2 separate regions of the Homo sapiens genome follow, and region 1 is linked to region 2. Evidence: promoter capture Hi-C in human tissues and cell types (Jung and others, 2019). All regions are on one chromosome and are shown on one strand. The core of a region is centred on a gene start or on the middle of the fragment in contact, and the rest is flanking DNA. Distances in the headings are between cores, read along the strand shown. Region 1 overlaps CARD11 (caspase recruitment domain family member 11). Region 2 holds the start of CARD11 (caspase recruitment domain family member 11).

The links. Contacts are between HindIII fragments. The study calls those that stand out against the background at their distance.
Region 1: a contact is called between a fragment that was not itself captured here and the fragment with the promoter of CARD11 in region 2, in 1 of the 25 tissues and cell types used here (pancreas).

The regions. Positions count from the first base shown.
Region 1 is chr7:3,001,633-3,004,332 of GRCh38, forward strand. The region is part of intron 1 of CARD11 (caspase recruitment domain family member 11); the gene reads right to left. Among named protein-coding and RNA genes, the nearest start is that of CARD11, 41 kb to the right of the region's middle. The HindIII fragment of the contact is 4,607 bases long and covers 1-2,700 here.
Region 2 is chr7:3,042,322-3,045,144 of GRCh38, forward strand. CARD11 (caspase recruitment domain family member 11) reads right to left here and starts at 1,546. Exons shown (of 25, transcript NM_032415.7): 1 at 1,346-1,546. RefSeq lists a silencer at 1,259-1,608 and an enhancer at 1,474-1,768. The HindIII fragment of the contact is 17,820 bases long and covers 1-2,823 here.

The DNA.
Region 1 (2,700 bases), core at 156-2,655, 41 kb before region 2:
TCTCCATCTTCTCTCCCTCCCAGTGGTTTTCAAGCAGAGAAGGCCAGCTCATCAAGAGACATGCATGCGAGTTAATAGAATTGCTTCCTTCTAACGAAGCTGTTCCTTCTCCTGCAATCCAAGAGCTCTCTGGCAATCCTGTTCCCCATTTGACACACGGCGACTCACGTTCCTCCAGGCCCACTGAGGACTGAACGTGGCAATCCTCATCCTGCTCTGCGGCTGCCCCAAGAACAGCAGCCTCACTCCTGGGGCTTCTGGGCAGCCACTTTCCTTGGCCACCTGGACCCTCGTAGGTCAGTCCTCTGCCTCCCATGCTGGGCCACTCCTTCCACTGTAGGAACCACCCAAGGTGTTTCCAATACAGGAAGCCCTTTCTCAGGGACAGCACTTTGTATCTTTCTTGAACTCATCTGGGACTACTTCCCGTATAATGTGGTGTTTTTTTGTTTTTAAGAGATGGGGTCTTGCTATGTTGCCCAGGCTGAAGTACACTGGCCATTCACAGGCGTGATCACAGCACACTACAGTCTGAAACTCCTAGGCTCAAGCAATCCACCTGCCTCAGCCTCCTGAATAGCTGGAACAATGGGTGTGTGCCACTGTGCCCAGCTCAGAATAATGTTTTTAAATACATAGAATAACATATAGGCCGCGTACAGTGGCTCATGCCTGTAATCCCAGCACTTTGGGAGGCCGAGGCGGGTGGATCACTTGAGGTCAAGAGTTCGAGACCAGCCGGGCCAACATGGTGAAACCCTGTCTACTAAAAATACAAAAATTAGCCGGGCGTGGTGGTGCGGGCCTGTAGTACCAGCTACTCAGGAGACTGACGGAGGAGAATCGCTTGAACCCAGGAGGTGGAGGTTGCAGTGAGCTGAGATCGTGACATTGCACTCCAGACAGTAAACAAATGAAACTGCATCTCAAAAACAAACAAACAAACAAAAAGCTTCTGCGGAGGCCTCAGGAGACTTATAATCATGGTGGAAGGGCAAAGGGGAAGCCAGCACATTTATGTCAGGAGCGGGAGGAAGAGAGAGAGAAGGGAAAGGTGCCACATCCTTTTAAACAACCAGATCTGGTGAGAGCTCACTCACTGTCAGGAAAACAGCAAGGGGGATGTCCATCCCTCCCCATGATCCAGTCGCCTCCCACCAGGACCCTCCTCCAACACTCAGTCACAACTGGACATGAGATTTGGGTGGGGACACAGAGTCAAACCGTATCACTCGGCCTCCCAAAATGCGAGGATTTACAGATGTGAGCCACCACACCTGGCAAATTGGGTCATTCTTATCACACCCACCTAAAACAGAGTTGGGAGGGGTGGAGGTAAAAAGCACCCGGGACACATAACATGGCTCCAGAAATGAAATTCTCTGCAAGCCCGGGCTGCGGACACTGCCAGCCGTAACCTGAAACCAGTTTTCTCTAACAGCTACTGAAACAATCTGCTATGACTGTAAGGTTAGTTTTACCCACCGCTGTCACTCACCAATCGGGGCTTGCCAGCTCCCCAAAACTTCACTGGTGACGGTCAACTTAAAGAACAATACGTAACACTTCTGTTTTAAAAATAAAACCTCAAACCTTTGTTCTTTGGACATAACGAAGACCACCCAGGTCTGTGTGTACGTCAAAAATTGTAATTCTTTGTTTTTTTTGAGGGGTCTTGTTCTGTTGCCCAGGCTCTAGTGCAGTGGCCCCATCATAGCTCACTGCAGCCTTGACCTCCCAGGCTCAAGAGAGCCTCCCACCTCAGCCTCCTGAGTAACTAGGACGACAGGCGTGTGCCACCACTCGCGGCTAATTTAATTTTTTTTTTTTTTTTTTGTAGAGATAGGGTTTCACAATGTTGCCCAGGCTGGTCTCAAATTCCTGGGCCCAAGCAATCCTCCCCCCTCGGCCTCACAAAGTGCTGGGATTACAGGTGTGAGCCACCGTGCCCAGCCCAAATTGCTGTTCTTACTTCTCAAGTAAAACTTCTGAATTGCAGAGATTCGTCTCTACAGTTTATTTGATGTCAACAACTCCTATATATCCAGTGCCTGGCCCAGAGCTCAATAACAACCACCAACTGTGTGGAAGAGTCCGATCTGATTCTAACTCTACAGTAAAGGACGCCCCACAGTCATTGAGAGGCCACGAACACTGCAGCAGATGGCACAAGGTGGTCTGCTAGTCTCCTGCCTAACTCATCATCACAGCCTGGCCTATTAAGAACAATTCCTTGCCAGAAGGGCCTCTCTCTAGCCTTACCCCATTGCAGCATCAGCTTACTGGTGGGTTTTGGCAAGAACCCGAAGTTAAGACGGGCACGGGAATGATGCCTCCACGTCCGATCAGCGCCAGAAGGTGCTGCTGCGACCTCTTCTTCCCCGCTCCCCCCAGTCATTTCTTCCCTGCCTGGACTCACTCTGTGGGAAGTGATGGTATCTGAGGACTGCAATATGCTCCACGCCAGGCCCCCATCCATCACCAGCTTCCTGCTGGTTACCATGGAGACGGAATGTGGGGTCCCCACTGGGATGGCACATTCAGAGTCCCTGGGCGAGGGAGTATTTGTGGGCAAAGGGACACTGTGAGATCCAGGACCACCCAGAGTGGGGCCACGCAGAGGTCCACGCAGGCAAGAGAGGCCAAGGGGGAAGGAGGCAGCTGAGAAAAACTGCTGGATGTGCACAGAACTAAGGGCAG
Region 2 (2,823 bases), core at 296-2,795:
TCAAGGACCATTCATGCATTAACAGAAGACTGCTGGGGCCAGTGGAGCCACGGCCTGCCTATCTGATACCCAGGCAAGTAACATCCACACGGGTCCAAGCATTCCCTGGCCTTGAATTACGCTGAGTCCTGGTCACTGTTGCGCTCCTCAGGGCAGCCCTGGCCTGAGGCAGGGGTGTCATCTCTTTACAGATGCCTTGCTGGGGAGAGAACCGGAGTTTCCGCGAAAGCGCAGAAGTGGACACTTACGGAGAAATTCCTGTCCTCATATCAATTCCCGGCTCCCGGGATTTCCGGCACGCATTATGCACAGGCTGAGCGCTCAATAAATGTGGAATGAACGATCGACTATTTTTCTCCCCTTTCTGGTAGGTTGGTAACCTTATACCTTCAAGACGAGTCATAAATATTAGGAGAAAATGTTTTGAACTACAAATCAAAGGCTTTGAGAGCAGGCCAGGCAGAGAGAGGTCAGTTTGGTCCAAGACCAAGTTTGTGTGGGCAGCCCCGAAGCTCACAGCTGAGACCACTGTCCATGAACCTGGGTCCCCGTGACAGCCTCCAGCGGTGCTCAGAGCCCCCGAGGGACAGAAACACCCTCTCTGCCCCTATCTGCAGAGGGGGCTCAGCAGAAGGCCTGGTGGCCCCATCGGGCCTGGAGGGGCCTCCTGGGGGAGGTGGCTTTCAGGCCTGAGGCCGCTAGGACCTGCTCCGGGTTTCAGTCGGGAACCTGGGCCCTCTCCTGTGCCCCCGCCACCCCCTTTCTAGTACAGTCCCCGCGGGGGGCTGTCCTCTCCCATCTCCCAGCTCCACACCCACTTTTGGTGCGGCTGCCCTTCCTCCCTGAGCCAGGCCCCACCTTCCCAGGAGCCTCTGAGTCAGGCTGGGCTGTGGTCTGCAAACTTCCGGGCCTTTCAGGTGTCAGAAAAGTTTCTCTTCCTCCCTCTGGGGCAGGTGCACCAAGGGGCTGCAGCCTCCTGACCCCCGATTTTTTCCTGTCCAGTAGGAGGAGGTGGGGGCTTTGCTGGGCGGTGATACTCAGAGACGCTCAAAGAGACACGGAGGAGAGGCACACGAGGTGGAAAGTGAGGGAGAAAAAGGGTTGGAAGGGAAAAAGGGGAGAGGAGAGTGAGAGAGAGAAGGGGGGCAGGGGGACAGAGATGGAGAGGGAAGGATACCCCCAGCATCGCGGGACCAGCGGGAGCCACTCCCATCCCCCGACGCCCCCCCCGCCACCGTGTCATCTCACTGATGCCCCCCATCTCCTCCCCGTGCCCTCTTCTCTTCCCCCAACTCCCCGCCTCGTGCTCCCCCTCCGCCAGCTCCCCCATCCCCGCTGCGCCTACCTGGGGCGCTCATGCTCCGCCAGCCAGCTGCGCGGGGCGCCTCCTCCACGCAGGCCTCCGGCTTCCTCCAGGCGACCAGGCCCTCCGTCCCCCCGGGCCCGGAGCCGTCCTCCGAGGGGCGCCGCCCGCCCAGGGGCTGCAGGGCCGGGAGGGGGCTGCGGGCGGCGCGGGCAGGAGTCCGAAGGCCAGAGGAGGCAGGAGAGAAAAAAGGAGAGAAAGTATGTCATAGGCTGGGAGGGGCGGGGGAGGGAAATGCAAAACCCGACAGGAAATGAGACTAAAAAATGCGAAAGGTTAGAAAAAGATAAGGAAGAGAGGGAGGGGGCGGAGTCGGTGCTTCGGGAGGAGGGCGGCAAGGAGGTGGGGGTGGGAGTGGGGACAGGGCCGGGGGTGGGGGTGCTTGGGGACAGATCAGGGAGCCGGAGATGGGGAGACCAAGGCGAGTCTCAGGGCCCAGCCCACCTGCATCAGTCGGGGTGAGGCTGGACCAGTCTGGGCATCAGTCCCCACCCAGCCGTGACCCCCGGCAGAGTCCAGGTGGGGCCTTGGGAGGGGCTCTCTCCCTTCTAGGTTCTCCAGGGCACTGGCTCCCGAGATCTAGCTGAATTTCTGAAGAAATTCCAGAGCCTGTCACTGCAATGGGAGGGGAACGGGGTGCCCCACATCAAATCCTGCAGCCTCCTACACCCCAAGCCTCTTTCCTCCCTCAGCCCCTGTTCTGGAAGCTTCCTGGGCATGCCGGGTGGTCAGCACCCCTTCAAAGGCCTTCCTCACCCCGACAGCTTTGGGGTCCAAGACACCCACCATCAGCTTGTGCCCTCGATGTTCCGGTGAAGTATACTTGTAAGAGAAACTGTGATTTGGATGTCATCATTTTACTTTATTTTTATTTTTTGAGATGGAGTCTCGCTCTGTCACCCAGGCTGGAGTGCAGTGGCACAATCTCAGCTCACTGCAAGCTCCACCTCCTGGGTTCAAGCGATTCTCCCACCTCAGCCTCCCGAGTAGCTGGGACCACAGGCGTGCACCACCAAACTTGGCTAATTTTTGTATTTTTAGTAGAAATGGGGTTTCAACATGATGGCCAGGCTGGCCTCGAACTCCTGACCTCAAGTGATATGCCCACCTCAGCCTCCCAAAGTGCTGGGATTACAGGCATGAGCCTCTGCGCCCAGCTGGATGTCATCATTTTAATAATTTACCCCAAATGGCCATCGTCATGGGTGGGATGGTCCCAAGGGTTTACATGGATTGCAGACTCAAAAATCTGGATGAAAGAAAATGTGATACACACACACACGCCATGCAATACTACTCAGCCATAAAAAAGAACGAAATAAAGTATTTTGCAGCAACTTGGATGGAACTGGAGGCCATTATCCTAAGTGAAGTAACTCAGGAGTGGAAAACCAAATACTACATGTTCTTATTTAAAAGCGAGAGCTAAGCTATGGGTAGGCAAAGGCAGGCAGAGTGGG